Regions from separate parts of the Homo sapiens genome. Here regions 1, 2, 4, 5 and 6 are each linked to region 3. The links are contacts of gene promoters, found by promoter capture Hi-C in blood cells and fetal thymus (Javierre and others, 2016). All regions are on one chromosome and are shown on one strand. Each heading gives the region's core, a stretch centred on a gene start or on the middle of the fragment in contact. The rest is flanking DNA. Distances are from core to core; before and after follow the strand shown. Region 1 overlaps PADI2 (peptidyl arginine deiminase 2). Region 2 overlaps PADI6 (peptidyl arginine deiminase 6). Region 3 holds the start of PADI3 (peptidyl arginine deiminase 3). Region 4 overlaps SDHB (succinate dehydrogenase complex iron sulfur subunit B). Region 5 has its middle 4.8 kb from the start of RCC2. Region 6 overlaps RCC2 (regulator of chromosome condensation 2).

Evidence for each region. The method cuts DNA at HindIII sites, captures the fragments that hold promoters and counts their contacts. A CHiCAGO score of 5 or more calls a contact.
Region 1: a fragment that was not itself captured here is called in contact with the fragment with the promoter of PADI3 in region 3 in 11 of 17 cell types (monocytes, neutrophils, megakaryocytes and 8 more); the score reaches 19.3 in monocytes.
Region 2: a contact is called between a fragment that was not itself captured here and the fragment with the promoter of PADI3 in region 3, in 6 of 17 cell types (neutrophils, M0 macrophages, megakaryocytes and 3 more). The highest score is 9.0, in neutrophils.
Region 4: a fragment that was not itself captured here is called in contact with the fragment with the promoter of PADI3 in region 3 in 2 of 17 cell types (neutrophils and monocytes); the score reaches 14.9 in neutrophils.
Region 5: a fragment that was not itself captured here is called in contact with the fragment with the promoter of PADI3 in region 3 in 1 of 17 cell types (neutrophils); the score reaches 5.1 in neutrophils.
Region 6: a fragment that was not itself captured here is called in contact with the fragment with the promoter of PADI3 in region 3 in 3 of 17 cell types (M0 macrophages, neutrophils and M2 macrophages); the score reaches 7.1 in M0 macrophages.

Annotation. Positions count from the first base shown.
Region 1 is chr1:17,070,344-17,074,003 of GRCh38, forward strand. PADI2 (peptidyl arginine deiminase 2) reads right to left here. Exons shown (of 16, transcript NM_007365.3): 14 at 1,063-1,148. Among named protein-coding and RNA genes, the nearest start is that of SDHB, 18 kb to the left of the region's middle. The HindIII fragment of the contact is 1,384 bases long and covers 1,179-2,562 here.
Region 2 is chr1:17,380,321-17,384,417 of GRCh38, forward strand. It overlaps PADI6 (peptidyl arginine deiminase 6), which reads left to right. Exons shown (of 16, transcript NM_207421.4): 5 at 727-844; 6 at 1,647-1,772. Among named protein-coding and RNA genes, the nearest start is that of PADI6, 10 kb to the left of the region's middle. RefSeq lists an enhancer at 946-2,145. The HindIII fragment of the contact is 3,969 bases long and covers 1-3,235 here.
Region 3 is chr1:17,247,277-17,251,052 of GRCh38, forward strand. It overlaps PADI3 (peptidyl arginine deiminase 3), which reads left to right and starts at 1,822. Exons shown (of 16, transcript NM_016233.2): 1 at 1,822-1,953. The coding sequence starts at 1,862. The HindIII fragment of the contact is 2,587 bases long and covers 1-2,086 here.
Region 4 is chr1:17,034,294-17,038,477 of GRCh38, forward strand. The region is part of intron 2 of SDHB (succinate dehydrogenase complex iron sulfur subunit B); the gene reads right to left. Among named protein-coding and RNA genes, the nearest start is that of SDHB, 18 kb to the right of the region's middle. The HindIII fragment of the contact is 3,780 bases long and covers 459-4,184 here.
Region 5 is chr1:17,442,532-17,446,357 of GRCh38, forward strand. No RefSeq gene overlaps it. Among named protein-coding and RNA genes, the nearest start is that of RCC2, 4.8 kb to the left of the region's middle. The HindIII fragment of the contact is 6,214 bases long and covers 1-3,826 here.
Region 6 is chr1:17,421,190-17,424,981 of GRCh38, forward strand. It overlaps RCC2 (regulator of chromosome condensation 2), which reads right to left. Exons shown (of 13, transcript NM_018715.4): 5 at 1,516-1,647; 6 at 1,014-1,102. Among named protein-coding and RNA genes, the nearest start is that of RCC2, 17 kb to the right of the region's middle. RefSeq lists an enhancer at 862-1,616. The HindIII fragment of the contact is 4,272 bases long and covers 1-3,792 here.

The DNA.
Region 1 (3,660 bases), core at 621-3,120, 180 kb before region 3:
GCGGGCGCCTCTGCAGCCTCTCCCTGGCCCTGTCCACCGGGGTTCATGAACAGCAGTCGTAATAGGACAGAGGAAGGTCACAGATGCCAGAACAGCAGCTGCCATTTCCTGAGCACTCACTAGAGCCGGTCCCTGTGCTAAGTGCTTCCCACACAGCACCTCAGTGACCCCTCGGGCCACCCCATGAGCTGAGGATAACACTGATGATTTTGGTAATAACAAAAGCTAATGCGTACATGTGCTTAGTACTGTTCTAAGCGCATTACATAGATTGCCTATTTAAGCTCCAGCCCTGTAATATAGATGCTATTATTATTCCCTTTTAATTTTTTTTTTAAGACTGAGTCTCACTCTGTTGCCCACGCCGGAGTGCAGTGGCACGATCTCGGTTCACTGCAACCTCCACTTCCTGGGTTCAAGTGATTCTTCTGCCTCAGCCTCCCAAGTAGCTGGGATTATAGGCGCCTGCCACCACGCCAGGCTAATTTTTGTATTTTTGGTAGAGATGGGGTTTCAACATGTTGGGCATGTTGGCCTTGAACTCCTGACCTCAGGTGATCTGCCCACCTCAGTCTCCCAAAGAGTTGGGATTACAGGCATGAGCCACCAGGCCCGGCCAAAGTTTTTATTTATTTTTTTTGTAGAGACAAGTGTCTCACTATGTTGCCCAGGCTGGTCTCAAGCCCCTGGCCTGAAGCAATCCTCCCGCCTTGGCTTCCCAAAGTTCTGAGATTACAGGCATGAGACACTGTGTCTGGCCCCCATTATCCCCTTTTTAGAGATGAGAGACCCAAAGACAGCCTTAGTGAGTTGCCCATGGTCCTACCTCCCCAAGTGAGGGGGCGGCACAATTTGGCACTTCTTTAACCCTGGGACTTTAGCCCAGGAGCAAAGCAAGGAGGCTGGCTGGATGCTGGTGGAGGCTCTTCCCTGTGCTGCTGTGCTCGGGGTCAGGAGCTCCTGAGCCCTTGGCCATTCTCTACGGAAGCCCCAAGGATGTAAGGGCCTGAGCCTCATCCCTCCCAGGGGCCCTCTGGCCCTGCACCCCTGCCCTGCCCTCACCTGGAAGTACAGGTTCTCCTGCACAAGGCTCTCGTTGGACAGAATCTTGTTGATGGTGATTCGCTTGCTGCTCATCCCACCCAAGCCTGTGGGGTTCAAAGGACAGGGGATGGTCAAGCTTTAGATACCCAGGCTGAGTGTTCCCCTTTTGCCAAGATCCTCCAGGCCTGGGCTAACTGCTGGACTGGGACTGGGGAGATGGGACTGGGGAGAGGCTGGATCACAGGAGGGCACTCCCAGGCAAAATCAGGCCCCCCTCTGTCTGGGGAGGGCAGCACACACTCTTTTCTCCAGAGTTGACCATGACATCTGAGCCAGGACAGTGGTGGCAGCTGCCTTGCTCTTGCTTTGGCCAGTGGGATCAGGGGTGCTACAAGTAGCCCCCTGGTTCTCCCACCTACAGCCTACTCCTAAGGATGAGCAGCTGACCAGCATGAATGTGGCAGAAGCAGCATGGCCAAAGGGGACACCCTTCCTGTTTTCCAGAGCTGCCTCATCTTGGCTGCTGCTCTGGAGTGGCCTGCGTTTTCCTCCTGTACCACACGATGGCTTATGTGGCTTCCAGCTTGATTAGTAATGCCTAATGCTCAATGAGCACCTACTATGTGGCCGACGCTCTTCTAAACGCTTTACATTGAATTAACTCATGGATCCTCCCCACATTTCTATGGGGTAGTCACTACCCTGAAAAATGAGGAAACTGAGGCACAGAGAAGTTATGTGACTTGTCTCAGGACTTACATCTAGCAAGCGGCAGAGTTGGTGTGCAGATCAGGCAGTCTGATTCCAGAGCCTATGCTCTTAACCTATTATTTGTTTATTTATTTTGGCCTCATCTGGGAAGAGACTGCTGGTCCATTGCACTTCCCAGGTTTATAACTGGACAGCAGTAAAGATGCCCAGCTACAAGCCGGATGTAATCTTTGAGGCTTAGGGACTCAGAAGGGAGGGTCCAGGTAGAAACAGAAAACTTTAGGGATCTGTGATTTTCTAAAACTGATCCAAGTTCAGGAGATAGATTGATATAAGCATTTTTCTGGAGGGCAAGTCTGTAGTTTTTATCATCTTTTAAAGGGATGTGTTTTCCCCAAACATTGTGGGCTCTGGTCCAGCGGAGATCTTGGCTCTTTGGCATTGCCTGGTTCACCTTCCTCCCCAGGTCTCCTATGTGCTTCTACTCTCTGCTGACTGCACATCCGCGCATCCTCTCTCTGTCTGTCCCAATTACATGAATGTCTAAGTCCAGGAGATAATGTTTCACTCCTGAACTGACAATGACGATGCCTGACCATGCCTTCTGTCCATCAAAGTCCAGTTTTCTTCCTGTCCCCAAACTGTATTCTATCTATTTTCTCTCTATCTCTCTTTCTAAAATACAAAGAGAAATCTGGGGCACTGCTTGCCCCTATTTGTACAAAAATAATGGTCCCTATATCCTATGGGTAGTTTTTGAGGGTATGTTTAATATTAGAGAGGAAGCCTCCAGGAAGTCAGGACTCAAGCTTGCCAATCCAAGAACAAACTTCCCATCAGTGGGGAATTTAAAAAGGGTGGTGGTGTTAAATTGGTCTTGTCTGTCCTAGACACCAGTGACAGTCAGGAACACTGTCTTTGGATCTGAGGGGCAGTCATGTAAGTATCAACCAGCTGCGGGAACTCAGGCTTTCAGGCATGAGATATATTATGGATACCAACCTGAAAAGTGACAAAAGTAATTTAAGAAAAAAATAGGCCGAGCATGGTGGCTCACGCCTGTAATCCCAGCACTTTGGGAGGCCGAGGCGGGTGGTTCATGAGGTCAGGAGATTGAGACCATCCCGGCTAACATGGTGAAACCCCACCTCTACTAAAAATACAAAAAATTAGCCGGGCGTGGTGGCGGGCGCCTGTAATCCCAGCTACTGGGGAGGCTGAGGCAGGAGAATGGCTTGAACCTGGGAGGCGGAGCTTGCAGTGAGCCGAGATGGCACCACTGCACTCCAGCCTGGACGACAGAGTGAGACTGTGTCTCAAAAAAAAAAAAAAAAAGTATAACGGATATAGAGAGTGCTGATGGTTAGTCAGCATTGTAGATGTATTTAATGTCCCGGAACTGTGTCCTTACAAGTGGTTAAAATAACAAATGTGTTAGATTAGGTATATTTTATCACAATAAAAAACATGTTGGACATAAGGATGGCAATGGCAAACACTGGGGACTATTAGAGTGGGGAGGGAGAGAGGAGGGAAAGAGTTGAATGACTAACTGTTGTCTACTATGCTCAGTACCTGCGTGATGGGATCATTCATACCCCAAATCACACAATACACCCAGGTAACAAACCTGCACATGTACCCCCTAAATCTAAAATAGAAGTTGAAAAAGAAAAAAAAGAAGTATGAGGAATTGGCATGGTGTCTCTAACCTGGCTGGTTGTCTCCACCTGATCATCTTTCCCTCTTTCCGTGATTAATTCAAATGCAAACCTCATCCCGACTATGTCTGTCCCAATTATGTGAATGTCTAAACGTAGAAGATAATGTCTCACTTCTGGACTGACAACCACGATGTCTGACCATGCCTTTTGCCCACTAAAGTCCACTTTTCTTCCTGTCCCT
Region 2 (4,097 bases), core at 1-2,500, 130 kb after region 3:
TGCCTCAGCCTCCTGAGCAGCTGGGGTTACAAGCGTGTGCCACCACACCTGGCTAATTTTTTTTTGAGACGGAGTCTCGCTCTGTTGCCCAGGCTGGAGTGCAGTGGCACGATCTCAGCTCACTGCAAGCTCCATCTCCCAGGTTCACGCCATTCTCCTGCCTCAGCCTGCCGAGTAGCTGGGACTCTAGGTGCCTGCCACCATGCCTGGCTAGTTTTTTTTGTATTTTTAGTAGAGACGAGGTTTCACTGTGTTAGCCAGGATGGTCTCGAAATCCTGATCTCCAGTGGTCCACCTGCCTCGGCCTCCCGAAGTACTGGGATCAGAACTGATTAAATTTCTAGCTCACTAAAAAAAAAACCAGAATGTCTGGCAACTCTAGGCTCATGTCCTACCCTGGTTGTGGAGTCTCCTAGATGAGAGGATTAGCCGCTGCTGCCAGGTGGCACGTCTCTTTTCCAATTTGCCTCGGTCCCTGATTCTCTGACTCTGAAATATGAGGTAAGTAACTGGTAACCCCGAACCTAGCTTCTTTCCCTTCCTCTTAGCCTCCTTACCTGACATGACCTTCCTGTGCCTACAGATTCTTGACCTCACCAGTCCTGTTCCATGGGTCCCTGTACCCTGGAGAAAGGCTTGGCTGGGCCCCTCTGCTATGAGGTGCATCCGAGAAACAGAAGATTTATTTGGCTCCTTCCTGAGCCAATGTTCCCATCTCATTTGCAGAAAAAATGGATCTGGGGTCCCAGCGGTTGGGGTGCCATCCTGCTTGTGAATTGCAACCCTGCTGATGTGGGCCAGCAACTTGAGGACAAGAAAACCAAGAAAGTGATCTTTTCAGAGGGTAGGACCTCAGACTGTCTCTGCCTTTCCTTCTTGGTCTCTTTGCTGCCCTGCTTCTCAGCAAATGGATTCCAGACTAATTTTCTCCACCCCACCCCCGACACCCTCTTCCCCAGTCCCCATGCCTGGGCTGATCAAACCTTTTGTCCTGAGTTGTAGATGTATAATTGGGTAAGAGAAGTCACATAGCCCCATGCAAAGAGCATGGGTGGTTACTTGTTTCCTAGCTGTGAACTTGAGCACACTAACTTCCCTGATCTTGTTTCCCTATTTGTAAAATGGGGATGATGCAGTTGGCCTCCCAACTATATCAGTTGGTTGACAAGACTAAATGAAGACAATAGGGGTATATGCGCTGCTTTCTAAAAAGCCTCTCATAGTCTGGGCCAGGAACCTTGGACTGTCTTGGGTAAAATTCGCCTTGGATCCTGACTTGCGGTTGGGACCAGGGTTCTGGGTCTTAGCAGTAGAATGGAATGTCTTGTTTCCTACTGAGACTGGAAACAAGACTGGAAACAAGGTGAACCTTCACTGAACTGATCGAGGTAGGCCCTGTTCTGTTTGTGGGGGACCATGGGATAAATCCCATCCTCCCTCAAAAGGAGGCCCTGAGGTTTGCAGCTTGCCTGTAGCCACCTAGAACAAGCAGTGAAATGGTAATTCTTCGGGCCTGGGCCCTAGCAAAAGGCAGGGGGTCCTTGGTGCTCTGTTCAAACTCCCGGCCCCTCTCTACTGCTCTTCCCTCCACCCCCAGAGTGCTGGCCTCCAGACATTCCTTAACCTTTGCTTTGTCTTTTGCCCAGAAATAACGAATCTGTCCCAGATGACTCTGAATGTCCAAGGCCCCAGCTGTATCTTAAAGAAATATCGGCTAGTCCTCCATACCTCCAAGGAAGAGTCGAAGAAGGCGAGAGTCTACTGGCCCCAAAGTGAGTGTTCTTGTGCCAGCTCCAGCTTTGCCTGCTCTCGACGTGCCAGGCAAGTTGTGCCCACACCTCCTCCCAGCAAGGTCCCCAGCAGAAGCCTGCTGGAGACCTAGAGCTGCAGATGAGAGGCTGTTGTGGCTGTACTTGTGTTTCCAGGATTCTCTGGCTGCCACCTTCCCCATAGGCTAAATCTGTACACATGGGTGAGTTATTGCACCTCTAAGCCACTTTCTCCACTTGTAAAATGGGGGTAGCTGTGCCTTCCCTGCAGGCTAGAAGAGAAGAGAGACATATCCACTGAAACAGTAGCTATTGCCTTACACAGAGTAGATCACATCTCCCAGTGACTCCTCTCAGGAGAATCCATCTTCACTCTAAACCAATGATCCACTATGTTAAATTTCCAGAAATCTGAGGCCAAAACCTCTAGAGCGGCAGCCACGGTAGCACCTGCATCCCAGCCACCACGCCATCCACCACCCATCTTCAGCCCTCCTCTCCTGGGAGGCAGGTAGCATACTCTATTCTATAGATGGAGGGCTGGTTAGGAGGTACACATGCCCAACTCCAGCAAAACAGCCTTGCACATCTTTTGACTTCCCTGAACTGGCTCAGGACTTGGCGTACCTCTAAATCTCTCATTGAGAGCTAGCTCTGCTTCTGGACGGACATGCCAGCATGCTTTCTTTGGGTTTTGTTTTGTTTTTCCCCTTTGAGTCAAGGTCTAGCTCTGTCACCCAGGCTGGAGTGCAGTAGTGTGATCACAGCTCACTGTAGACTAGACTCAGCTTCCTGGACTCAAGCAGTCCTCCTACCTCACACTCCCAAGGAGCTGGTATGACAGGTGTGTGCCACAACTGGCTAATTTGCTTTTCTTGTAGAGACGGGGTCTCACTTTGCCCAGACTGGTTTCAAACTCCCGGATGCAAACAATCCTCCTGCCTTGGCTTCCCAAAGTGCTGGGATTACAGGTGTGAGCTACTGCACCCGGCCCAACCTGCCACCTTGTCTTGTAAACCATGCTTAGCTTCAGCTACGCAACGCAGGGAGCTCTGTGGTCTATACTGTGCCTCTTCTCAGAGGGCACCATCTTTGTTGCCAGCATTGGAGAGTGTGCCCCTGCCACTTCCTGGTCTACACTCTGGGGCCTTGGCTCAGTCTCCTACTCCATCTCTTCTGCAGACCATAGATCTCAGCTGGATTTCAAAGTAGCCTGGGATTAGCCAGAAAAGGTAGCCCAGCTTGGACGTGGCCATCTTACACATGAGCTAGAGTGAGCCGAAGAAACCCAGGGGTCTAGGTCTGGTTCAGGCCACAAGGGCTACTCTGGCCCTGGGAGGCTACCAGTGCTGAAGTAGGTGGATTAGGCCAGGCAGGCCTTGGAGTCCGCCGGTTCATGTAGCTTGCTAAGGATGCCATACTTCATCATGTGGATCATAGCGAACTACCGGTTTCTTTATTGAAAAAGCTTATTCAGGCTGGGCGTGGTGGCTCATGCCTCTAATCCCAACATTTTGGGAGGCTGAGGCAGATGGATCACCTGAGGTCAGGAGTTCGAGAACAGCCTGGCCAACATGGCGAAACCCTGTCTCTACTAAAAATACAAAAATTGGCATGGTGGCGGGCATGCCCGCCAGCTACTCAGGAGGCTGAGGCAGGAGAATTGCTTGAACCCGAAAGGCAGAGGTTGCAGTGAGCCGAGATCATGCCACTGTACTCCAGCCTGAGTGAGACTCAAAAAAATAATTTTTTTAAAAAAACTTATTCAACAATCTAGGGGCTGAGCACGGGGCTTATGCCTATAATCCCAACACTTCGGGAGGCCAAGGCAGGCGGATCACCTGAGGTCAGGAGTTCGAGACCAGCCCGGCCAACATGGCAAAACCACATCTCTACTAAAAAATACAAAAGCTAGCTGGGCTTTGTGGCATATACCTATAATCCCAACTACTCAGGAGACCAAGGCAGGAGTGAACCTGGGAGGCAGAGGCTGCAGTGAGCCGACGTTGCACCACTGCACTCCAGCCTAGGTGACAGAGTGGGACTCTGTCTCAAAAAAAAAAACTTAAAAATCAGGGTAGGGCAACACAGCATGTTATGTTTTAACAAGCCTTCCAGGTGACTCTGAAACATGCTAAAGCTTGAACCACAAAAAGATACAGCAAAAGAGTCTGAAAAGTTTACAGAGGAATAGAAAGCCAGAATACAGGGTTCTAGAAACAGGCTGGGTGTGTTGGCTCACACCTGTAATCCCAGCACTTTGGGAGGCCAAGGCAGGAGGCTTACTTGGGCACAGGAGTTCAAGACCAGCCTTGGCAACACAGTGAG
Region 3 (3,776 bases), core at 572-3,071:
TTTCCCAAAAACTGAGACATGGGAATGACAATCTCAGGGTCCTGTTGAGGCCCTTGAACTGGTGCAGATGTCCCAGCTGGAGATGCTGGGGAGCGGGTCCTGGTCCCCATCCTGTCTCAGGCTGTCAGCACTGCCAGGGAGAAGGGAGGAAACCTCTATTCAGCACCTCCTGAGCCTCCGCCAGGCAGGGTGCGTCTTCACTATTATCTCCGCCAGGGCCAGTGATTAGCTGCATTTTCTACAGATGAGGAAACCGAGTCTCCAAGAGGGGGGACACTGACACCCAAGGCCCTATAGTGGGTGCACGGTGGAGCCTGCCTCTGAACCCAAGACTTCTCTCCCCAGAGCCCTTGCTCCTGCTCTTCCAGGAGCCTGAATGCCCCTCTGACTTCGGTTTCCCACCTGACGACTGAGCTTTCCTACTCTGACATGCCAAGCTCCCCCTGGCTGGAGAGAGTTCTCACCCTCATCATTTACCGCTTTCAGAGGTTTTTGGGACCTAATAACAGCAACAATAGTAATACAATAACGCCAAGCTCCATACCAGAGCTCTACCAACGCTGGCCCCTGAGGCCTCACAGCAACCATTTTTCAGACGAGAAAAGTGAGGCACGAACAATTAAGAAAGTTGCCCGGCCGGGCATGGTGGCTCACGCCTGTAATCCCAGTACTTTGGGAGGCCAAGTCGGGTGGATCAAGAGGTCAGGAGATCGAGACCATCCTGACTAACACGGTGAAACCCCGCCTCTATTAAAAATACAAAAAATTAGCCGGGAGCCGTGGCAGGCGCCTGTAGTCCCAGCTACTCGGGAGGCTGAGGCAGGAGAATGGCGTGAACCCGGGAAGTGGAGCTTGCAGTGAGCCGAGATCACGCCACTGCACTCTAGCCTGGGTGACAGAGCGAAACTCTGTCTCAAAAAAAAAAAAAAAAAGAAACTTGCCCAAGGTCGCCCATCCAGGAAGCAGCTGAGGCAGGGCTGAAACCCAGGTCTGGCTCTAAAATCCATTAAAAAAAAAAAGTTGGTGTTTCTCAAAGGGCACCAAAATGCTTTGGGGGTGCTTATTAAAAAATCCAGAGGGCCGGGTGCTGTGGCTCATGCCTGTAATCCCAGCACTTTGGGAGGCCGAGGTAGGTGGATCACCTGAGGTCTGGAGTTCAAGACCAGCCTGACCAACATGGAAAAACCCCGTCTCTACTAAAAATACAAAATTAGCCGGAAGTGGTGGCACACGCCTATAATCCCAGCTACTCGGGAGGCTGAGGCAGGAGAATTGCTTGAACCTGGGAGGCGAAGGTTGCGGTGAGCCGAGATCGCACCATTGCATTCCAGCCTGGGCAACAAGAGTGAAACTCCGTCTCAAAAAAAAAAAAAAAAATCCAGAGGCCAGGCTGCACCCCTAACCTGCTGGATCAGAGTGGACAACAGACCTGGGAATCCGCATTTTCACCAGCTTCCCCAGCAGAGTAAGAAAGCTCCCCATTATAGTCTCTGAAAATGCAGAAAATGGAGGTGAGGAAGCAAGAAGCGTCCGAGATCAATATCATATATCTCTGCACCCCCTCAACAGCACCTGCCCCCAACAGTTCCTGGTGCCTAGCCAGGTACCTGTGGGGACTTGCTTCCCAAGAAATTAACTTCCTGGGTGCCGGGGTCGGGACAACAGGTTCGTATACAAATACTGGGTCCCTTCCAGCCAATCCTGAGCTCTCAGCTCTGGGAAGGGGCTGGGCTTTCATGACTGGAGCCAATGAATTGGCACCCTGGGCTGGAGGGGTGGGGCCAGGGGCTTTTAAACCTCATCCTAAGGGGCCTCAGGGGCAGTGTTGGGGTTGGCGGCCACAGCTAAGTCCAACACCAGCATGTCGCTGCAGAGAATCGTGCGTGTGTCCCTGGAGCATCCCACCAGCGCGGTGTGTGTGGCTGGCGTGGAGACCCTCGTGGACATTTATGGGTAAGAGTCAGAGGCCTAGTGGTTTGCAGGCCCTTGGTGCTGATGCCCTTGGACCTTCCTCCCTGCAGGCTGGGCAGGGCTTCTTCAGGGCCCACTCCCCAGCCTTGGCCTCGGAACAGCAGCCAATCAGGGAAGCTTGGGTCCTCCTCTTGCTCTACTGAGTTTCCTGAAGACCTTAGCCAGGGAATTTGAAGTTTGGGAGGCTGAGCCAGGTAGAAGAGGCTTCAGTGACTGAGCTCCAGACCGGGGGCTTGGAGGGGGCTGGTGCCGCGAAGAGATGGCACTTTTCTATGTCCAAGGGATGCTGCAGGTTGGGCTGAGGATCTGTCTGGGGCACACAAGAATAGGAACAGGCAGATATCCCCAGCCCCATCCTGAGCCTATGAGCCTAGAAACAGAGCATGAATCATTTTTAAAAAATAAGTTAATACATAGCACTTACCATGTGCCAGGCACTATTCTAAGAGCTTCACAAGTCTCTTGAGTTAAGTTTTGAACTTTAATCTTGAATTTAACCCTTACAACAACCCTGTGAGCTAGGCTTATTATTAGCATCATCTCATCAGACAAATGAGAAAACCGAGGCAGAGAGGGCAAGCCATTTGCTCAAGTCACACAGTTACTAAGTGGCAAAGCCAGGGTTTAAACCCGCTTGTGGTCTTACTCAGGAGTCTTATGGTTTTAGCTGCTCTGATACTTGGAAAATAAAGATTTCCAACCTGGTTTCCTCTAGACACTCAATGCCCATGCATTATGCTCCTACTGTGTGCCAGGTCATGCCTTTGAGGCCCATGGTAGAGGGAGGTAAGGCCTTATCTTCTCTCTCTTAGGAAGAAAAGAGGGTTAGGGTAGGGTTTTAAGAGCTGGGCTCTGGGGACCACCAGGGAGCTGGCTTCTTAGGCTTTTGGGGAGAATCCAGGGTCCTGGCTTGGAGGTAATCAGGATACTGGGAGGGGAGGGTGCAGAACTGTGGGACAGCTCTCACCTCTCAAGTCTCCCAGCCCTCTCCTCAGGCCAGGTTTCTCAACCTCAGCACTGCTGTCACGATACCTCTTTGTCATGGGGGCCACCCTGTGCACTGTAGGATGGAGAGCAGCATTCTGGGCCTCTCTTTGCTAGATACCAGCAGCACACTCCCGAGTTGTGACAACCAAAAATGTCCCCAGACATTGCCAAATGTGCCCTGGGGTGGGAAGAAAATAGCCCACCCATTGAGAACGAGTCTCCAAGACTAAGACTCGAAAAATCAGGGCGAACTTAGTCGGGAGCAGCGATGGGGTTGATCCAGGGCATTGGATGAGAGGGGGTGAGGAGCTGGTCATGGGAGGGAACCAAGTCGGGAGCAGAGCCAGCCCAGGAAATAAATCCTGGTATTGGTGGGTGGGCAGTAGGAGGAGGAAGGGGATTCAGTGGTTCTTGAAGGAAGGGGCAGCCACGGAGGCTGTGCCAAGGAGGTAATGAGGAAGGAGGGGTATCTGCCACTTGGCACCACTGCCTGCCTGCCATGGGGTGACTGGGCTGCGTGCCATGGGGTGACTCACCTGCCCCTGCTGCCTCGTGCCCGTTGGGCAGATGTGTCTCCGGTTTGACCTGTCCCAGGAAGCCTGGGCCTGGCTCCTCCCCCGCAGAGCTTCCTTAGAGGATAGAGGATGGATTGGGGCAATAAGAGATAAAGGCCATAGCTTCCTGGAGTCACCTGAGCCACACTGGAGGTTTGCAGAGAAGGCCATCGGTGGGACAGCCACAGGGTGGGGGATGGAAGCTCTGATACCTTCAAATGAGGGATTCTTGGGCCCTGGTGGCCAAACCCCCCAGGGGTGGGA
Region 4 (4,184 bases), core at 1,099-3,598, 210 kb before region 3:
GTGCCACCACATCCAGCTTAATTTTTGTATTTTTTTGTAGAGGTGGGATTTCGCCATGTTGCCCAGGCTGGTCTCTAACTCCTGGACTCAAGTGATCCTCCTGCCTTGGATTCTCAAAGTGTTGGGATTATGGGTGTGAGGCAATGGTGCGATCTCGGCTCACTGCAACCTCTACCTTCCGGGTTCAAGCGATTCTCCTGCCTCAGCCTCCCGAGTAGCTGGGATTACAGGTGCATGCCACCACACCCGGCAAATTTTTGTATTTTTAGTAGAGATAGGTTTTCCCATGTTGGCCAGGCTGGTCTCAAACTCCTGACCTCAAGTGATCCACCTGCCTCAGCCTTCCCAAATGCTGGGATTACAGGTGTGAGCGACTGCGTCTGGCCCATTATCTGTATTTGTATCAGCACTATGTAGACGTCCTTTCTGCTGGACCTCTGCTAACACTGGGAATTGGAAGCTTTAAAAACCTTTGCTATTCTGATACTGGAGAAGTGTTATTGTTTTCAGTGTTTTAAATCGAGACTTTTGAATACTACATAGGTTGAATGTTTGTCATAAATTTACTAATTTTTCTTTATTTCCCAATTATTTATTGAACATTTACTCTGCCAGGTTCTGTTCTAGATGCTGGGGATGTAGCAGAGAATAAAAGAGACGAATACCACCTGCCCGCACAAAGCTCTGTTCCAGAGGACTCATTCTAGAGACTCAGTCTGTCCACATTCTTTGCCTCTGTTTACCAGGGTCTTGGAAATTCTTTTTCATGATCTGAGGCTCTTATATATTATATCTGTTGCCATTTCTGCTTCCTCCCTCACTGCCAATAGTAATGTGCTATTTGACTTCTAATTTTGGTAACAGAATTTTAAACATACATGAGTTAAATGTTTACATTAATAAAGGTGGCTATTCTTTCTTTTATAACATTATCTATCACTTTTAAGCCTAAACAGACCACTGCCCTTCCTGAGGTCTGATAAATACTTTACATTTTTTTCTACTTAAAAAAAATTTTAAGTTACTCCCCTAAAACTGCAAAAACTGTATCAGTTGTCCCAAATCACTGACTAAATCCTCTTTTGCTTCTTATTTGTAATACCTTTCTCCCATATTTAATACTGGGAACTTAGATAAAATTGAGTCTGTTTTGTTGCTACATTTTTATTCTAATGATCTGCCTGTTCTTGTCCTAGCATATTTTAAATGACAACAACATCTTTGTTTTTTTTACATTACAAAGGCTAATATTTGCAGCCTATAAAAATTTCAAATTGGCCAGGTGGGTGGCTCACGCCTGTAATCCCAGCACTTTGGGAGGCACTTTGGGAGGCCTTGGCGGGTGGATCATGAGGTCAGGAGATTGAGACCATCCTGGCTAACGTGGTGAAACCGTCTCTACTAAAAATACAAAAAATTAGCTGGGTGTGGTTGCACGTGCCTGTAGTCCCAATTACTTGGGAGGCTGAGGCAGGAAAATTGCTTGAACCCCAGAGGCGGAGGTTGCAGTGAGCCGAGACCGCACCACTGCACTCCAGCCTGGGAGACAGAGCGAGACTGTCTCAAAAAAATAAATAAATAAATAGATAAATAAATAAATAAATTCAAATCAAAGGTAAAAAGTAATCCTGCAGATCATACTGGGACAGAGAAAAATATTAAAAAGTCAAAGTCCTCTCTTTAAGCTGTTTCATGCTAAATTTCCTAATAGGTAGGGCTCATTAAAGAGTACAACATAAATTTTCTCAGATTTTACATAGATACCAAAATTGTTTGATATTCTGGGTCCCTTGCATTTCTATAAGATTTTTAGAATCAACTTGTCAACTTCTGCAGAAAAGGCAGGTGGGATTTTGATGGGGATTGCAATGAATCTGGAAATCAATTTGGAGACCACTGCCTCCTTAACAACATTAAGTCTTCCAACCCACAAACAGGGCATGTCTTTCCATTTATTTATGTCTTCTTAAATTTCTTTCAACAATGTTTTACAGTTTTTCAGCATATAAGTCTTTTACTTATTTGATTTTTGAGACAGGATCTCACTCTGTCGCCCAGGCTGGATGGAGTGCAGTGTTGTGATCACAGCTCACTGCAGGTTTGACCTCCCAGGCTCAAGTGATTCTCCCACCTCAGCCTCCAAGTAGCTGGGACTATAGGCACAGGAAGGTCATCAAGCCCAGCTAACTTTTTTTGTAGAGATGGGGTTTTGTCTTATTGCCCATATAATTTGTTCCTAAGAATTTCTTTTTTGATGCTGTTATATGGAAAATAGTTTTTAAATTTCATTTTAGGATTGTTCATTGCTAGTGTATAGAAATCCAATTTTTGTTTTTTTAACAGTACTTACAGGCTTTTTTCTAGGTAAGCAGGGTTTTACATATATAAATATAAATATTTATATAAATATGAATATATAAATATAAATATTTATATAAATATGAATATATAAATATAAATATTTATATAAATATGAATATATAAATATAAATACATATATAAATATATATGTATACACACACACACACACATTTTTTCTGTAGAGACTAAGTCTTGCTATTGTTGCCCAGGCTGGTCTCAAAACTCCTGGCCTCAAGCAATCCTCCTGCCTTGGCCTCACAAAGAAAGTGCTAGTATTACAAGTGTGAGCCACCATGCCTAGCCTAGAAAAATACATTTATCTGCTAATATCTGCTACACGCCAGTATTTTCAGAAAAAGAATTATGCTGTTGTGAAAATGAAAGAATATAGCTATTTTTTGTGTGTGTATACATAGCTACAAAGTAGGGTTTCAGAGTCGGATTAGAAGGAAATAGAACTATAATTAAAACATGGTACAATATAAAATGAAGACTGACAGACATAGGTTGAAATAAACATGGACAAATTATGCATAATAAAAAACTAAACTACATTTGATTTCTGTATACCAGTTTTGTGTCCTCCAACCTTGCTGAATTTGTTCATTAGTTCTAATAGTTCCTAGGGGGCAATGTCTTATATTTTCTTTTCTTTTTTTTTTTTGAGACAGCGTCTCCCTCTGTTGCCCAGGCTGGAGTGTAGGGCATGGAATCATGGCTCACTGCAGCCTCGACCTCCTGGGTTCAAGTGATCCTCCCACCCCACCCTCCCAAGTAGCTCGGACTACAGGAGTGTGCCACCACACCTGGCAAATTTTTTGAGACACAGTCTTGCTCTGTTGCCCAGGCTGGAGTGCAGTGGCGTGATCTTGGCTCACTGCAACCTCTGCCACCTAGGTTCAAGCAATTCTTGTGCCTTAGCCTTCCAAGAAGCTGGGATTACAGGTGTGTGCTACCATGCCTGGCTAATTTTTGTATTTTTAGTAGAGACAGGGTTTTGCCATGTTGTCCAGGGTGGTCTTGAACTCCTGGACTCAAGTCATCTGCCTGCTTTGGCCTCTCAGAATGTTGGGATTACAGGCGTGAGCCATCGCACCCAGCCTGGCTAATTTTTTGTTTGCTTTTTTGTAGAGATGGGGGTCTCATTTTGTTGCCCAGGCTGGTCTCCAACTCCCAGGCTCAAGCAATTCTCCTGCTTCAGGCCAGGCACAGTGGCTCACACCTGCAATCCCAGCACTTTGGGAGGCCGAGGTGGGCAGATCACCTGAGGTCAGGAGTTCGAGACCAGCCTGACCAACACGCAGAAACCCCATCTCCACCAAAAATACAAAAGAATTAGCTGGGCGTAGTGGCAGGCGCCTGTAATCCCAGCTACTTGGGAAGCTGAGACAGGAGAATTGCTTGAATCCGGGAGGCGGAGGTTGCGGTGAGCCAAGATTGTGCCATTGCACTCCAGCCTGGGCAACAAGAGCGAAAACTCTGTCTCAAAAAAAAAAAATTCTCCTGCTTCAGCCTTCCAAAATGCTGGGATTATAAGCACAAGCCACTGAGCCTGCCCAAGGTTTTGTGTAAAAGATTATGTTATCTATGAGAGACAGTTTTACTTCTTCTTTTCCAATTTCCTTTTCTTTCTTTTTCTCACCCAATTTCCCTGGCTAAGCCTCCAGTAAAATTTTGAATGGCTGATGTTAGCATAAATAGAATTATCTGTAGCCATTGAAATACACACACACACAAATAGTATTTTGCATATTGACCTTACATCCTGCAGCCTTGCTAAATTTACTTATTCTTTTAGTTTTGTAGACTCCCTGAAATTTTCT
Region 5 (3,826 bases), core at 228-2,727, 190 kb after region 3:
GTCTCGCACTGTCACCCGGGCTGGAGTGCAGTGGTGGCAACCTCCACCTCCCAGGTTCAAGCAGTCTCCTGCCTCAGCCTCCCAAGTAGCTGGGATTACAGGCGCATACCACCACGCCTAGCTAATTTTGTATTTTTAGTAGAGACGGGGTTTCACCATGTTGGCCAGGCTGGTCTTGAACTTCTGACCTCGTGATTTGCCCGCCTTCGCCTCCCAAAGTGCTAGGATTACAGGCGTGAGCCACTGTGCCCAGCCTCAGAAGTGTAATTCTATTCAACTTGGCTACAGAAAGCTACACCTGTACTTGAAAGATTAATTTTCTGATCCAGTGTCTATAAAAATGAAACCAGTGATCCTGGGAGTGATGCGCTAACCAATGGAAACGATTCTTTCTCTTTTTTTTTTTTTGGAAACTGGGTCTCACTCTGTCACCTAGGCTGGACTGTAGTGGCGCCATCTTGGCTCACTACAGCCTCGACCTCCTGGGGTCAAACAGTTCTCCTGCCTCAGCCACCCTAGTAGCTGAGACTGTAGACGTGCACCTCCACGCCCAGCTAATTTTTAAAATTTTTTTGTGGAGACAAGGTCTCACTATGTTCCCCAGGCTGGTCTCAAACTCCTGACCTCAAGCAATCCTTTTGCCTTGGCCTCCCACAGTGCTAGGATTATAGGCATGTGTCACTGTGCCTGGCTTCTTTTTACTCTTTTCAATGTGACTACCACAAAATTTAATATTACATATTAAGTTTTTTGTAGCTCATATGTTATTCCTGTTGGACATCACAGCCTTCGAAAGCATAGCTGGAAAACCAGTAATTTCCTCCAGACCCCACTCTTTCTGCATCTGTTCTCTAGTTTCTCCTCTCTGTAAAATGGCAAGATAGAGTTTGGGCTAAATTTCTCTTGAGGTTACTTCTGGATTTCGTATTCCCTGATTCTGAGGACAGTAGTCAGCGGGGAATCCCTGTCATAGTGTTTGGAGAGATGTTTTCTGGGAGATGCAGATCCGGTCGTCCTATTTCTGCCAATGAGTCATGAAATTTTCAAACGCAGAGTCTTTAAATATTGTAGTTGGACCTTTAAGTTCTCTGTCTGTGAGGCATGCCTGGGCTTGGCTTGTGGCTTCTTCATCTTTGTTTTTCTAGCAAGCACCCAGAGCAGCCCGGCGTGTAGTAAGCTGTCAATATATGTTTGTTCATCTAAATAATATCCAGCGGAAGAACTGAAGCCCAGGGAGATGCTGAGGCCTCCTGAGGCCACACAGCTGGCAGATAGGATAGCCAGGAAGTGTACAGGCATCTGCATCAGTAGGAGGATTGTCAGAAACACAGAATCTGGCCAGGCGTGGTGGTACACGCCTGTAATCCCAGCACTTTGGGAGGCTGAGGCAGGACGATTGCTTGAGCCCAGGAGTTGGAGACCAGCCTGGACAACATGGTGAGACCCCATCTCTACAAAAATTAGAAAAAAATTAGCCAGCCGCGGCCAGGCGCAGTGGCTCACGCCTGTAATCCCAGCACTTTGGGAGGCCGAGGCGGGCAGATCACTTGAGGTCAGGAGTTCGAAACCAGCCTGGCCAACATGGTGAAACTCCCGTCTCTGCTAAAATATACAAAAATTAGCCGGGCGTGGTGGCAGGCAACTTAATCCCAGTTACTTGGGAGGCAGAGGCAGGAGAATCGTTTGAACCCGGGAGGCGGAGGTTGCAGTGAGCCAAGATCGAGCCATTGCACTCAAACCTGGGGGATAAGAGTGAGACTTCTCTCAAATAAAAGAAAAGAAAAGAAAAAAATTAGTCAGGTGTGGTGACGCAAACCTGTAGTCCCAGCTACTTTGGAGGCTGAGGTGGGAAAATCGCCAGAGCCTGGGAAGTCCAGGCTGCTGTGAGCCATGATCATGCCATTGCACTCCAGCTTAGGTGACAGAGTGAGACCCTGTCTCAAAAAAATAAAAATAAACACTGAATCTCAGGTTCAGCCCCCAGACCTACTGAATCAGAATGTGTTTTTTTTTTTTTTTTTTTTTTTTGAGTTGGAGTTTCCCTCTTGTTGCCCAGGCTGGAGTGCAGTAGCGCAATTTGGGCTCACTGCAACCTCCACCTCCCAGTTCAAGCGATTCTCCTGCCTCATCCTCACAAATAGCTGGGATTACAGGCACCTGCCACCACACCCAGCTAATTTTTTGTATTTTTAGTAGAGACGGGGTTTTGCCATGTTGGCCAGGCTGGTCTCGAACTCCTGACCTCAGGTGATCCACCCACCTCGACCTCCCAAAGTGCTGGAATTACAGGCGTGAGCCATCACACCCGGCCCAGAATGTGCATTTTTAACAGGTGATTTTTATGCATCTTAAAGTATGAGAGGTGCAGCCAGGCATGGTAGCTCACACCTATAATCCCAGCACTTTGGGAGGCTGAGGCGGGCAGATCACCTGAGGTCAGGAGTTCGAGACCAGCCTGACCAACATGGAGAAACCCCGTCTCTACTAAAAATTAGCCGGGCGTGGTGAGCGGAGATTGCGCCATTGCACTCCAGCCTGGGCAACAAGAGCGAAACTCCATCTCAAAAAAAAAAAAAGTATGAGAAGTGCTACTGAAATCATACCACTTTTCCATACCCTGTGGAAGCCATTCAAAAGGTGGTTTCTCATACTTTAAGATGCATCTAGCTGGGCGCAGTGGCTCACGCCTGTAATCCCAACATTTTGGGAGGCCGAGGAGGGTGGATCACGAGGTCAAGAGATCGAGACCATCCTGGCTAACACGGTGAAACCCCGTCTCTACTAAAAATACAAAAAATTAGCCAGGCATGGTGGCGGGTGCCTGTAGTCCCAGCTACTCGGGAGGCTGAGGCAGGAGAATGGCATGAACCCGGGAGGTGGAGCTTGCAGTGAGCAGAGATCGCGCCGCTGCACTCCAGCCTGGGCGACAGAGCAAGACTCCGTCTCAAAAAAAAAAAAAAAAAAAAAGATGCATCTAGTCCAGGGTGAGGAGGTCCAGGATGCAGAATACCAAGACTCACCAAGCTGGCTGATGTGGTTAGGCTTTGTGTCCCCACCCAAATGTCATGTTTTTATTTATTTATTAATTTATTTATTATTTATTTTTTTATTTTTTGAGACGGAGCCTTGCTCTGTTGCCCAGGCTGGAGTGCAGTGGCGCGATCTTGGCTCACTGCAGGCTACGTCCCCTGGGTTCACGCCATTCTCCTGCCTCAGCCTCCCGAGTACCTGGGACTACAGGCGCCCACCACTTCGCGTGGCTGATTTTTTGTATTTTTAGTAGAGACGGGGTTTCACCGTGTTAGCCAGGATGGTCTCGATCTCCTGACCTCGTGATCAGCCCACCTCAGCCTCCCAAAGTGCTGGGATTACAGGCGTGAGCCACTGCGCCCAGCTATTTATTTATTTATTTTTATTTTATTTTATTTTTTTGAGATGGAGTCTCACTCTGTTGCCCAGGCTGGAGTGCAGTGATCTTGGCTCACTGCAGCCTCTGCCTCCTGGTTCAAGCAATTCTCCTGTCTCAGCCTCCCAAGTAGCTAGGATTACAGGCACACACCAGCACACCTGGCTAATTTTTGTGTTTTTAGTAGAGATGGGGTTTCACCATGTTGGCCAGGCTGGTCTCAAATTCCTGACCTCAAGTGAGCCACCACGCCCGGCCTCCTGCTGCCTTTTGAAGAAGGTGCCTGCTTGCCCTTCTGCCATGATTGTAAGTTTCCTGAAGCCTCCCCAGCCATGCTGAACTGTGAGTCAATTAAACCTCCCTTGTTTATAAATTACCCAGTCTTGGGTAGTATTTTTATAGCAGTGTGAAATCGGACTA
Region 6 (3,792 bases), core at 685-3,184, 170 kb after region 3:
TCAAGTTTCTTAGAAAAAAAAAGACTGCCTATCTCCTGGGCGCGGTGGCTCACACCCAGCACTTTGGGAGGCCGAGGCAGGCAGATCAGGAAGTCAAGAGATGGAGACCATCCTGGCCAACATGGTGAAACCCCATCTCTACTAAAAATACAAAAATTAGCCAGGCGTGGTGGAGCATGCCTGTAGTCCCAGCTACTCGGGAGGCTGAGGCAGGAGAATCGCTTGAATCCGGGAGGCAGAGGTTGCAGTGAGCTGAGATCGCGCCACTGCACTCTAGCCTGGCAACAGAGCGAGACTCTGTCTCCCCTCCAAAAAAAAAAGACTGCCTATCTCGTATTTGTATTCTAAGCATCTGGCTGGTGACTTTATACAAGGTCAAAACAAAGTATTTGGGGGAAGTACAATTACATCCATATAACATCACTCACTTTCTTTGGAACAGAACAGGCTTACGACAAGGCATTTCTAACAGATTTCTCCATTTGGAAACAAAATGTTTTCAGGATGGTTTTCAACCCGACCACAAACTAAGCCTGTTTTAAAAACTATAGCAAGGCTGTGTGCAGTGGCTCACACCTGTAATCCCAGTACTTTGGGAGGCCGAGGTGGGTGGATCACCTGAGGTCAGGAGTTCCAGACCAGCCTGACCAACATGGAGAAACCCCGTCTCTACTAAAAATACAAAATTAGCCAGGTGTGGTGGCACATGCCTGTAATCCCAGCTACTCCAGAGGCTGAGGCCGGGGAATCACTTGAACCCGGGAGGCGGAGGTTGCAGTGAGCCGAGATTGCGCCATTGCACTCCAGCCTGGGCAAAAAGAGTGAAACTCCGTTCTCAAAAAAAAACAAAAAACAAAAAAACAAACAAAAAAACTCTACAGCATGTAACTAAACATCCAGACCCTGTTTTTACAAGGGGTAAATTAACTCAAACGGAGACCCCACCTTAGAAAATCAAACACAAAAGTAAAGAGAAACAAAAAGCCATGGAGCCGGAGCTGAGGAGGGGTCACCTGCGCGGGGCTGGGAACAGCGTCTGTCTGGTTGCCAAGGCCCAGCTGCCCCATCTTGTTTTCCCCAAACGCAAACACGGAGCCCGTTTCTGGAAGAAAGGAAAAATATCACAAAAGGGAAGATAATGGTGAATGTTTTGAACTAGATTTAGAATCAAAGGCATCAAAATAATAAAAACAGCTCATTTGCCAGGCAGAAGGCAAGTGAGACTGCCCAAAAGCTGGCAGTGCAGACGCTTCACAGCAAAGCCATTTCACATCAGAAACTGGGTGTGCAGAGAAACAGAGGGCAGCGTCTCCTACTCCCAGATGGGCCTCCTATGGCCACTGGGGAGGCTCCCAATGCCCTCAAGAAGCCACTCCATGCCAAGGTTCTCAGGGCCTCTTTCTGATCCTGACCAAGAGTCACAAGGGGAACTCCACCACCCCACGCCCCATCCCCAAGGCAGACCACCTGGCCTCTTGCCAAACTGAGAGGAGACACCAGCAGCCACCTCCTTACCCGTCAAGGCCAAGGTGTGGTTCCGCCCACATGCTGCAGACACAATCACTTCGTGGCTAAGACCCTCGATGAGTCTAGGGGCTTCTACTCTCTTGGTGTCACCATGTCCCAGCTGCCCCTTCTCATTTCGACCTGCAGATCACATGAGAGAAAGTAGAAAAGAGAGAGGGTGGTCCAGGCGGCACCACCAGGAGAAGGCGAGTACAAACACACTCTCAAATGATGCCCATCTGTCTCTGGAAGGTACCCTCCAAATTCCCAACAGCCAAGATCCAGAGCAAAGAACGCCCCGGCCCTCTGCCCGCTGGAATGGCGCCTGCTGCAGCTCCCCGGACCTCCTTCCCTGGGGCAGCAGCGGGACCACCCGTGCACACCTCCCACGTCTCTGCTACAAAGGGAAATGAGAGGCTCAGTGTGGTAGGGACACCATGCACAGGCGGGCATGCTCGCAGAAACACGCCGTTCCCACTTAGAGTGCCTGCAAGACAACCACCCCGTCCCTACCCTCTGAGATGTATTTTAAGACAGCACCCCATTTTGACACCTGGCTCACCAGAGTTTAATCACTTTGGTGCTCTGGGCATCCACTGAGGACCATTTGGTGTCTGCCCAATATTTCTCTTCCTTTTTCTACCCTGTAAATGGTGCTCACATAACAGTGCCAATCCCACCCCTAGGGATCGCCCCTCAAGGACTCTCAGCCACAGGAACCCTGGTGACAAAGCACAGATCCACCCTCAACACAACACGCCCAGCCCCACCTCCAGGACTGCTGCAGGTGCGACCAAGGCCCTGTATCTGTGAATTCCAGCGGAAGGCAGGCCTGAGGGCCAACCCCTACCCCCAAGTCCTCTGCAGAACCAAATTCAACTCCAAACAGACGTGGAAGTTGGGTGGGCCAAAAGGAGGGCTGGGAGCCCCTACACCGCATCTAGGTTTCAACACAAACTACCAAGTTCCAAAACAAAAATTCAACCGGCCACTCTCGGATCCCTCCCGATAAGAGAAAAACCACACATGTAACCTGACGTGGGGAAACTGACGGAGATCTTACAGTGGTGAGAAGTCAGGGCAATTCTAGGGGGTTTTGCAACCTTCTCCAGCAATGAACTTTTCACCCTTAGGTTGTGATAAAGGCAGACAGCAGAGCCATTAAGATGAGTTCCAGCTGTCCTGGAGAAGGCTTGCAGGAGCAGCCTCTGACTACAGAAGGAATTGCGACGAAGGGAAACCAGCCTCTGACTCGCTCTAATTAAAGAACGGCGGGCTGAAGGGCCAGCACTGGCACTCGAGCAGGAGAGGCAGATACACCAGCTTCCAATGGGAGCTGCCCAAGTTCATGTGAAAGGCATGTGAATACAGAGCAACAAGTGCAAGTCTCAGTGGACTGAGATGCGGCAGGACAGGGTGAGCGGGCCACAGATGGAGACCCCACATGAGCAATGCGTCAGCCACCCTCCCGTGGTACTCTACTCACACCAGACGCCGCCCCCTGCCTTCTAGAGTGGCGAGCAGTGGGCCTGTGACACCTTCCAACCCTGTCCTCACCAACTGCACTGTCTGCTCGGGGATCACACGTCTTGATGGCGGGACATACATTGTCCCTGCCCACAGGGTCAGAACTGAGGGCGCTTTCAGAGCCACCACGCAAGTGAAGCTCAGCGAGAGATCAGAACTGAGGTATTTTAAGTTTGGAACACTGACATAAAAGGCTGTGTTCAGTGTTGGAACACAAAGTAGGAGGGGTGCTCTGGGGGAAGGGACACACATCTATGCCAACCGGGAGAAAACAAAAACTGTGGCAATGTCAGCATGTCATCAAGAGACTATAAAGTATAAATTTGGGCCAGACACACTTTAGCTTTTTTCAACAGAATTACAAAATTAGCCATGTGCAGGGAAGACAACAGATGTTAATATATTTGGACTTTGGTACAGCAGCTCATGAAATCACAAAAAACGGTTCAAACAGCCCAAAATAAAAATGCAGTCATATGGACTAAAAGCTAGCCAGAGGACCAGCGACAAAGGGTGGGGACAAACGCCAATATGCCCCGCTGGAGGCAGAGGCCGGGAGTCACCAAAAGGGCTGGGGATAAAATGAGCCTTAGCCCATACCCTATGATTGGAATGATCTGGAAGAGGACACGGGCAGGAATGGGCCGGCCGGCTGCAGAGGACAGTGCCGTGGACAGAGGCTAACAGAAGAACTGGAACCCATCCCGAGTGCCCAGGTGAGGAAAAACAGAAGGGAAAGCCGAACAACTCCAAAAAAGC